2 separate regions of the Homo sapiens genome follow, and region 1 is linked to region 2. Evidence: promoter capture Hi-C in human tissues and cell types (Jung and others, 2019). All regions are on one chromosome and are shown on one strand. The core of a region is centred on a gene start or on the middle of the fragment in contact, and the rest is flanking DNA. Distances in the headings are between cores, read along the strand shown.

Evidence for each region. Contacts are between HindIII fragments. The study calls those that stand out against the background at their distance.
Region 1: a contact is called between a fragment that was not itself captured here and the fragment with the promoter of FNBP1L in region 2, in 1 of the 25 tissues and cell types used here (H1 embryonic stem cells).

What each region holds. Positions count from the first base shown.
Region 1 is chr1:93,776,131-93,781,851 of GRCh38, forward strand. It overlaps a transcript of BCAR3 not described here. Among named protein-coding and RNA genes, the nearest start is that of MIR760, 68 kb to the right of the region's middle. The HindIII fragment of the contact is 3,593 bases long and covers 324-3,916 here.
Region 2 is chr1:93,445,729-93,451,221 of GRCh38, forward strand. FNBP1L (formin binding protein 1 like) reads left to right here and starts at 2,390. Exons shown (of 17, transcript NM_001164473.3): 1 at 2,390-2,577. The coding sequence starts at 2,554. RefSeq lists silencers at 1,264-1,558, 2,498-2,547 and an enhancer at 2,039-3,017. The HindIII fragment of the contact is 21,665 bases long and covers 1-5,493 here.

The sequences.
Region 1 (5,721 bases), core at 870-3,369, 330 kb after region 2:
GGCTGAGGGAGGGAGGTATCCTCAGCAGTATCTGGTAGGTTCTGATACTTCCCAAGCTGAGAAGCATTAACTAAACATACTGCATGTTAATTCTTTCTAATTTTATAGGATAGAAAATGTCCGCATATGAAGCAGAGATAATAATATAATGAACCCCCATGTCCCCACCACCAAGTTTCATTAATTAACTTGGCTAACTTTGTTTCATAGCCAACCCACGCCCTACTGTCTTCCCACCCCCAAACATGCCATTTTATCTGCGGAAATGTACTACTGTAAGTTAAAGACTCTCCCCTTTGTAAACATTACCACAATATAATTAAGTTTTTTAAACTGTCGATAAGCCATTATTTTATTAAATATCTAGTAAGTATTCAAATTTTCAAACAAAATCTATATATTGTATTTGGTTGTTACGTCTATTATGTCCATTTTATTATAATTTACAGAGCTCTCTCCTGGAATTTCCTTGCAATTTATTTGTTGAAGAAACCAAGTTATTAGTCCTGTAGAGTTTCCCACATTCTGGATCTTGCTGATTCTACTGCCTGTGGTATTTTTTAACATGCCTTTTTGTACTCTCTACTTCCTGTAAATTGGTAGGTAGATCTAGACTTACTCTGATTTATGTCTAATTCTTTGCCAATAGGTGGTATGCTCTGCCAGAAAATAAAGTCTTATGTCTTCCTATTTGTGATCTAGGCTGCCCTTGATGATTATTACGGGTTGAACTATGTTCCCCAAAAGGATATGTTGAACATTTACCCACCAACGCTGTGCCTGTGATCGTGACCTCATTTGGAAACAGGGTTCTTACAGATGGAATCAGGTTAAAATGAGGTCATACTGGATTAGGGTGGGCCTTGATTCAGTCCTTATAAGAGGACAATTTGAACACAGATAGACACAGGGAGAAGACAGCCATGTGACCATGGAGGCAGAGAAGGGAGTGATGGTTCTACAAGCAGAGGAATGCTGAGGATTGCTTGCTGGCAAACAAAAGGAAGAATTCTTTTCTAGAGGCTTCAGAGGAACACAGCCCTGTCAGTATTTTGATTTCTGATTTCAGCCTCCAGAGCTGCGAGACAATAAATTTCTGTTGTTTTAAGCCACCTGGTTTGTGGTACATTGTTATGGCAGCCATAGGAAACTAATACAATTATTGATACCCAGAATTATTATTTATTTAAGAGCTTGCAAATAATATTTCTTCTGCTTTCTTCTTCCTCCTCTTCTTCTTCTTCCTCCTCTTCTTCTTCCTCTTCTTCCTCTTCCTCCTCCTCTTCCTCCTCCTCTTCCTCCTCCTCCTCTTCCTCCTCCTCCTCTTCCTCCTCCTCTTCTTCCTCCTCCTCCTTCCTCTTCCTCCACCTCCTCCTCCTCCACCTCTTCCTCTTCTTCTTTCCTTCTCCTCTTCCTCCTCCTCCTCCTCCACGGGCATGCACCACTGTGCCTGGCTAATTTAAAATTTTTTTTTGTAGAGATGGGGGTCTCGCTAGGTTGCCCAGGCTGGTGGCAAACTCCTGGGCTCAAACAATCCTCCTGCCTTGGCCTCTCAGAGTGCTGGGATTACAGGCATGAGCCACCACACCTGGCCCAATATTTCTTCTAAATTATTGGCTGGAATACTCCTATAGAAAGAAACATTCCCTTCTCCACTATTTGGTTACCCTGAGGTTCAATTTATATGGCAAATGTAGATTCCTTTGCTTTGCTTTCCTGTTTTCAGAATAATGAGTTGGTTCCCCAGTATTATCCAAAGGTGAACAATGGTCTTTATTTTTCTTTTTTGAACATCATTATAAACTTGTGAATTTCCAACAGAATTCATGTGGATTTCAGTCCTTTTTAGTTATTCTTATTCATATTAACATTGTCCCATTTGTGGCCAGTGAGAGCCTTGACAAGTTGACTTCTGAGTCCTGTTGACATGACCCCAGGGATCTCTGACACTTCCCTCACTATCTGGTATATCATGGTGTTTAAGCTTCATCATATGCAATTCCTCCTCTGGACCATCCATTTCTGAAATAAACCCTGGTTCCATTTGGTGGGAAGCATAATTTAGAGACTACAAACCGGTACTAGGGGCATGGACTGCATTTGACTGGTCATTGTTTCTAGGCCTTAATAGTGGTCAGAGATAGGAAACAGATTTAAGATAAGAAAATGTATCATTAGTTTACACTAATATATTTTATTCAAATTTAAAATTACAGAATTTTTACAATTTTAAAAATTTTATATTTGCATCTCTTATGGTGAAGAATCTTGGTTTCTATCAACATTAGCCTAATTACTTATTTGCTCTATCCTATTATATATATAGTGAATAGTATCAGAATAATAATACCAATATTATTACCAGCAATCTGATTACTAAAATCATGGAGTCCTTTTTTTTTTCCTTTTGCCAACCAAACCAGCAGCAGCAGTGAAAGGGAGTTATTTTTGCCTTAGGATAATCTGTTTCTAACGCTTGTTGCAGCCCTGGTTTTACCCACTACTCACACCTCCTACTGGGTTCCCAGCCACCTGCCAGTTCTGGCTCCTCCAACAAGACCCACTTCTCTAGGATCAGGGATTTTCCCTGCTGTCTACTTTTCTCCAACCCTTCTTTGCTCAGCTGAATCCTACTCATCCTGCAGTTTAATACTCAGGTATCATTTCTCGAGGGAAGCCTTTCTGAAGGTAGCACCTCCCCTGTTGTGGTTCTCATTAAACCATTATACAATCACATATTTAATTATCAATTCCCTCACAATATATAGGCTCTTGGAGAAAGGAGGGTGTCTGTCTTTGTTATTGAAAGCCTCAAGCTTTGGTGTGGGGTCATGGTAGGAGCTCAATTTTCTGATACTAATCTCAGGTTCTGATATCTTGGCCAACATCAGAAAAAGCAGTTGAGGAGGATGGGAGGAGGCAAGATGGGAGGAGGAGTGGTGAAGGCAAACAGCTGAGTTTCAAACAGTCAGAGTTTATTGTCTAAAACTTTGAGGGAGAAGCGCCGATGCTGAGTTTTAGGCAATTCACTTTTGTATAGGAAGCATGGTGAAGATAGGCCACCTAATGATTAACAAAATCGTTAGAGTAGCAACAACTTCTAATTGAAAGATGCCATTCCTGAGGTCCAATGACTTGGCCAGGGCCAAGTCATTCATTCATTCATTTGCCCACAGCTGTTTATTGAGCTGTGTTGTATGCCAGGCACTATTTTCAGCAGTGGAGAATAGGGTAGAGAACAAAAGGAAACTCCTAACCTCATGTGGCTTACATTCTAGTGAGAATGACAGGTACCAACTAATAAACAAATAAGGATGAGTCGGTGGACATAAGTAAAATGAAGAAAAATAAAGCATGGCAAGAGGATAGTGAGTGATGAGTAGGGCTATTTGGGTATTGGGATCAGAGAAGACCCCTCTTTGAGGGAAACTTGGTTGAAAAAGAAAGTGAGCCATGCAGATACCTAGGGGAAGGGTGTTCCAGGGTAGCATTAGTCATGTTGACAGAATGTCATTAGAAACCTGAGCCTCTTCCTTCAGCGCTTTAAGTAATTGCTTAGTGCGTAAGTTGTTCAGGAAATGAGAACAAACTTAACAATGCACGTACTCCTGGATAGCAGACATTCTGCTAAAGGATTTTGCAGCAAGGGAATGGTATGTGGCAGCTGCAATACCCACCTCCAGCCCAGCAGGGCCTCTCATGCCCACCTCTTCCCTCCTCCCCCAATCCCAGGATGTGAACAACATGACCCCAGTGCTTCATTTACAATTTGGGACCAGCTAATCCTAGGTGACTCCGGTTCCTGTTGCCCTTGGCCTCCACCCAAAAGGTAAACCCCTCAGGACATGTCTTCTCATCCTCAAACCCACATTGTTTCCAACCTCCTTCCCACTGACCTCATCCCCCACTGCTCCTGGAATTCCCTCCCACCCTCAGGGCCTGCTTAAGGTAGACAACACCCAAACCTCAGCCTTTTCTTTTCTGTTCCCTTACAGGACTCCTCTGTGGCCTTCCTTTGCCACCTTTTTCATGGAAGGCTGCTCATTTTCCCACATCCTGTGGGGACTCAGAAGCGATCAGCATTGTCCTAGCTCCCCTGATACTTTGCTCAACTCTCCTTTGTACAAATGATCTTTGATTCTTATGCCATCTACCTCTTCCTTCTGCTTTTCCTACCAAATCCTGGTTATCCCATAATAGTGACTGAGGAATTGACTCATAATGTTTCTTCCACTCCAACTCTTAACATCACTTGAAATGTCTACACTGGGCTGATGATTCTCTTAAAACTCTTCTGTCACATTTCCTTGGCTTCTTCAAACACAATGACATTCATCTGCTCTCTACTCTGGCCACCCAAAGCAATCAAGTGGCCCAAAGCACAGGCACAGAGACTGGAAAAGAAAATGGAGATGGTAAACAGGAAGTGAAGAGGAGAGGAAAAAAAAAAAAAACAAGATGGAGGAGCCAGGATTTTCTTTGCAGAAAGGGCTAGAAGCTCAAAACTCCATTTTGGGGGTGCGTTTGACATGCATTGTGGATGGTTTCATTTGGTTTAAAATCTTTTTTGATCTGGACAGAAATTAGGGTATTCTGGTTAATAATACATTTTGTTAAAAGTGAACATAACATACATTACTAAATTTACTAAGAAGAGTAAAAAACCTCACTGATACCCCTTAACCATTACTTGCTAAATAATAACATCCTTTGCATTTACAAAGTACTTTCACATATTTTATTTCATTTTAATCTCAAAACAGCCTTGTCCTGATTCCCCCTATGATTCTGCAATGATTTGGCTCATTGTTCAGAAATCTAGATCCCAGTGCCCTGGGTCAAGTGGGGCTGGCTTGAACAAAAGGTACTCTGGAACCCCAGGGGAGGGCCAGTAGGAAAAGAAGGGCAGCCACCATGTATAGAGCTGTGGAGTGGAGGAGATTGCCCAGTTCTCCAAGGTCCAGCTGACTAAAGCACCTGCCCCTAGTCCACTTGGCCTATGCCAGGAGTCAGCAAGCTTTCTTGGAGAGGCAGAAAATAAGACAATACAAAAGAAACAACCATGGCTATGTTCCAGTAAAACTCTATGGACACTGAAATTTGAATTTCATGTTATTTTCACACATGAAATAATACTCTTCTTTTGATTTTTTTCAACCATTTACAAATGTAAAAACCACTTTTAGCTCATGGGCCACATGGCCAACAACCTGGATTTGATACACAGGCCGTAATTTGCTGACCCTCAGTGTGTGCCAGAACAGCCATAAAGGAACCGGGCAGCGGGTCCTCTGTTCATTAGTCCATGAATATTAATATTAACATCAATTAATATTGATAATGCCCATCATTTTGAACATAGTGTAAAATACTATGCAAATGCTTTACATACTTATCATTTAATCTTCATACAATTGAGCAAGTTATTACACCAGCCCTACTTTACAGATGATGAAAACAGGGCTCTGGGAGGATAACCTGCCTGAGGTCGCACAACTAGTAAGGTGAGGAGATCCTTGCCTATCTACAAAGCCCAAGTTCTCAGCCATTATAATGCCTCCCATGCTGGCTCTGCATCATAGGCATACATTTTGGGTTCTCAAATCCTCCTATGCCTGTCTACTTTCCTATCTCTTCCTGCTGTTTGGGTTTTTAGATTCTTACTTTTACCTTCTCCCTGTTCCCCACTTTAAGATTTATCTTCTCCCAAGCTCGACAACT
Region 2 (5,493 bases), core at 1,140-3,639:
TACATAAACAGCACGGTTGAAAATTTTAATGTGAACAGTAGATTATTTTACTTTAAAGGGAAATCCTCACTGGGCGTGGTGGCTCACGGCCTGTAATCCCAAAACTTTGGGAGGCTGAGGGGGTTGGATCTCTTGAGCCCAGGGGTTCAAGACCAGCCTGGGCACCAATGGCAAAACCCCATCTTTACAAAAAAATCCAAAAAATTAGCCAGGTGTGGTGGTGAGCACCTGTACTCCCAGCTACTTGGGAGGCTAAGGCAGGTGAATTGCTTGAGCTGGAAAGGTGAAGGTTGCAGTGAGCCCAGATGGCAATACTGCACTGCTGGGCAACAAAGCAAGACTCTGTTTCAGAAAAAAAAAAAAAAAAAAAAAAAAAAAAGATAAATCCTTTAACTTGGGTTTAAATTATATTCTATAGGTCTTAGCTTTTATGACAATACTTAGATATAATAAATCTTGGTATTGCTGTGGTGCTAAATAATGACACCCATTTAATAAATCCATTTCCCAGCTGGGCGCAGTGGCTCACGCCTATAATCCCAGCACTTTGAGAGGCTGAGGGGGGCAGATCACTTGAGATCAGGAGTTCGAGACCAGACCGGCCAACATGGTGAAAACCTATCTCCACTAAAAACACAAAATTTAGCTGGGCGTGGTGGCAGGCGCCTGTAATCCTAGCTACTCGGGAGGTTGAGGCAGGAGAATTGCTTGAACCTGGGGGGTGGAGGTTGCAGTGAGCCGAGATCGCGCCACTGCACTCCAGGCTGGGTGACAAGAGTGAAACGCCGTCTCAAAAAAAAAAAAATCCATTTCCCCTTACTAATTAATGTTACTTGCAATTGCAAAATACATTCATGATTCTAGGGAGTGATAGGAAGTGATGGGAGAGGCGGTTAACAGTGTTAGGTGACATAAATAAACGAAGAAATTATTTTGGAATAGAGGCAATGTAGAAAAATGTTAGAAAGTGTTGTTCAATCCTTCACAGGCTTTTCACTGCATGGTACAAAGTTAAGCATTTAAAAATTGGCTATAACCCACTTGGAAGAGGGCATTTGTATGCTTAAAGTGGCCTCAGAAAAGGACAGCAGAGAATTTAGGAAGATTAGCAACTGGACTGTCAGGCGAACTCAGGCTGTTGGCCTCAACTCCAAGAGGGAGCGCAGCTAGGCAAAAGAATACGGATTAAGCGGAAGAGGTTGGAACACCTGTCCAGGCCAGGTAGGGGAGGAGTTTCAATGCTGACAAAGAACCCGTTGGGAGAGCTTCCTAAAACACCCAGCTGTCATGACGCACTGAGGAGTACTCTACTAGTTGACTGTTTTGAAGTGTGTGTGTGTGCGCTTGCTTGCTTTAGGAGACAAGCTATTAATACTAAAGCATATGTTAGGGAGTTGCTCAGCGTACTTGATATCTAGTAGCACCAGCCAAACTAGCTAACAGCCTTTCCATGGAGATAGGCCAGGAAGTAGCTCCATAGAGAAAAAAGGAAGTAGTGGACCTGCCTCCAAGGTTCCGATACTGGGAGGTGAAAGAGATCTGAAGTTCCGAATAAGCTGTTTACACTACCAGAGAAAAATCTGGCTCCCATCCAACCCTCACCCACGAGGTGCCCATTCCAGACATGGGGCAAGCTGCCTTCTCATCTTCCGCAGGTGACAGCTCGGCTCACATTTGTCCACGTCTTCCATCTCGTGCGCTGGCAACATACCTAAATGATTACTGGAAGAGCTGCCTCTTTTTATAATTTCCTGACAGAATTTATAAAATTAAAATATTTAATTAAAGACAGAATCGGGGACATGTTGCCTTCACATTTGCTGTTCAACCTGTGCACATTTTGGTGGTTCCCAAGAATCGTCATGCCAAAGCATCAGGCTTGAAAGGAGAGATCACCTTAAGCATCAAGATTTAAAAAAATAAAACACAACTCTCCTCAGTCTAAACTCTAGGATTTGGATGACGCTTCCCTGTCAAGGTTTCTCCCGAGTGGAGGAGACAAGAGGCAGGAAAGGCAGGTAACTAAAATTGCCTCATGTAAAGGGGCTCAGCGCAGAGGAGGAATGAGATAATAGCGGCGGTGGGGGTCTTTTCCCTTCTCTCCCTTTCTATCTTGGAAACAGGGGTCCGACTGGCAGCGGAGTGGGGGCAGTCCAAGCTCCGGGGTACCTGCAGGAGGAGACTCGACCAGCGAGAGGGGCCAGCGAGGGTGACCAGGTGCCCGCTTGGGGACCCCGCCGGCGGTGGCCAGGCTAGCCCAGGTCCTCCCCGATCCCAGGATGCACTGCGCCCCGCCCCCTCCCCGCGCCGCGTTCCGCCTCCCCTCGGCCCCGGCCCCCTCCCGCCCAGCGCGGGGAGGCGGGGACGCGTCGGCGGCGGAGGCTTCTCCAGTCGCGTCTTTCTCACTCACTGGGGAGCCCGGCGGTGGCGGCACCTTTCGAGGTAGACCCGCTGAGCTGCTAGCCCGCCGGCCAGCGAGTGAGAGGTCGGACAGACTGTGGAGCCGACAGACTGAAGGACAGCGGCACCGCCAGACGGCCAGAAAGTTCCGCCATGAGCTGGGGCACGGAGCTGTGGGTGAGTCGGGGAGAGGGGCGCCCCGCACGGACCCCGGCCCCTGAGAAGCGCGGGTTGGGCGGGCGCCGCGGACCCTCGGCGGTGAAAGCGCGCTCCGCCGTCCTCGGTCCGGCGCTGGCGGAGGGTGAGGGTCCCGCTCGTCTTTGTGTGCAGACTCCTCTTCCCTTCTCGGCCGGGGGTCTAGGGGGCCGCTAGTCCGTGCTCCCGCCTTTGCCGCCGTGGTGCAGCTCGGGCGGCGCCCGGGACGGCCGGGGGAGCAGCCCGCGGGCTCCTGCGTGCGCCGTGATCCCCTCTTGTTCCTTCTCCCTCCTCCACCTTCACTTTTCCCGACGCCTGGCTTCGCGCCCGGCGGCTCCTCTCTTCCTTTGTATCTCTCCTCCCGGAGGCGGGGGAGGGGGCCCATTGTCCCCAAGGGGCGCTGTTCGAGGGCGGGGAGGGGACCGGCCGCGATTCCTCGCCCGGGCCAGGTCCGCGGGGCTAGGGCGTCGCCCGTCTGGGGCGGCGCCGCCCAGAGCCCTCGCCCCAGGTATGGGGACCCAGGCGGCTTTGTTCGGAGCCCGGCCTCGGGCCAGCCAGGCCCAGCCCACACGCACATTTCTCTCTCCCTGCCTCAGTGCTTCGGGCGGGCACAGCTTCGAGGGACTCCGGTTTGGCCACCCCCGGCTGCAGCCTTTGGGCTGGTGGGTTGGTTTTGGGGGCTGAATTAAATCGAGTGATCGATGAGGAAGCTAATTTTACCAAAAGGAGCGTACGGTCTCCCTGTTGCTTTACTTCCCTTTCCGTTCTTTATTCTCACTTGTTCTTTCTCCTTCGTTCTCTCCTTTCCTTTCCTCCTTGCCTTTCTTTGGCACAGGAGGCTCCAGACAATGCCCAGTGTCTGGCCAAGGTACGGGCGGAGGGTAATAGGTCGGAGAATTTGCTCCTGGCGCCGGCGCGGAAGGGTCGAGGTGTGGAGGGCAGTGATTTCTCAGGTGCGGAGGGCAGTGATTTCTCAGGTGCGGCCGGGAGAACTGGGGGCGTGGGGGCGCTGTCCCGAGAGCCGCCTGGCCTCAGCCACTCCCCTTTTTATTCCACCTGTGCCTGTTTTCCGTGCCTTTTGTTCGCGAGGATCTCGTGAAATCACTGCAGAGAAAGGGGAGAAATAACTTTTGAGTATGTGTGTGCCCAGCTAGGGTGGGAGTGAAAGCCAATGGGTTAATTGAAAGGCAAAATGTTTTCTTATTTTTCACGTCTACTCATAGATTGGGAATCTTAGAACTGTGAGACTTTAGAGTCCATCTAGTGAATGCTTTACTTAGCCAGCCAGGAATCTCTTGTGCAACATTCTGTACAAGTGCTTACCCAGTCTGAAAACACACCACCCAAGAGAAAATACCTTAGGAGCCCCTTCATTCCGTTTCTTAGATAGCATTAATTGTTCTTATATTGGGGAGGATTGCATGGTAAATGAATTACATAAAGTTTAATTCTTTTACATTGGTTAGTTTCTCAGGCATTATTGGCCTTTTTCCCTTACACTTTGTGCATTCTATAATTGATTATAGTGAATTATCAATGAAAGGAAATGGGTATAGTTTTATTTTAAATTTTTAAATTTTTTATTTTTTTCATGCCTACCAGAGTGCATTCATTCGTTTTTATAATTACAAAATATTTTAACTTTTGCCTACTTAAATGACTTGTGCTTCAAAGGAAACTAAAATGTAAGTAGAATACTTCTAAAAAGTAAACATAGGAAAACAGTGGAGGCATGTTATTTAGATTTAACTCTTAAGATTTTTAAAAAATTCACTTTGTATCACACTAAAGAATAACAGTTTTAAGGAAAAACATTTTAGTGAATAATAAAATGTGATTTTAAAAGTTTTTTTTTTAAACTTATGGTACTACCTAAGGAAACGATTCCATTCCTCTACTGTCTCCTATAATTTGGTTACTTTCAGCATTTAAAGAGTTTCTCAGCAATCTGAAAAGATAAACTGTAGAAGAGATGGGAATTTTTGTTCTAACTAAAATTTGCTTTGTGTCCTTTGGAAATTCTGAAAAAGATTTTTAATTTTTCTCAACATTTAATACATCTCCATATTTTAAGATTTTTAGTTTGAGGATTTGAGGGAAACATTTATTAGAAACTAAGTAATGTAGAGTGAACTAATATCAACTTGGTGTCTGAAACTTAGATAAGCAGAACTTGGTGTAGAGGACTATTGTTGGGACTAGAAGAAACCTTAGAAAAATTTGAGTATGCTTCCTCTTTTTACTGTTCTCAGTTTTGAAAAAGGATTATACTTCTAATGGATTGTAATGTAATACAAACAACCTGTACTGTGCTCTTGCCATTGAGGAATTTGAGGTTGGGAAATTCTCTCGAAATTTTGGATTTAGAAACCAGTTCTCCTATTATTTCATATTTAGAATCACATTACTGTCCCAAAGAGTTAATTATTGAGAATATGTTGTTACAGAAAAATGATATGTAGCCATGCACTTAAACCTGAGTCTGTTTCTTGTAACAATCATTGGAATTTTTATTGCTATTTTAATGCTTCTTAAGTCTTATGTTAAATTTGAGAAAAAAAGGAATTCAATAGAACGGCTCTAATACTGACTTTGGGGGACTTTTGTAGTGATGTGCTGAGTGGATCGTGTCAGACTTTGGTTGCGTAGTTGTTAGGGGATATGAATTAACTTGTAATAAATTTGAGCTGTGCTTACAGGGATTTCTAGTGTTCCAAATGAGTAAATAAGTTAGTGAATATATACTACAGTCACAGTTTTGCATTGTATTCTGGGTAATACCAAGGAAAGAGATGATACTGTCTTCACTTCTTCAGGATGCGTGGTAACATCTTAGGCATTGCTTATTGTGTTCATTTCTTTATTACATAGCAAGAATGGATGGATCAGATAGCCAAA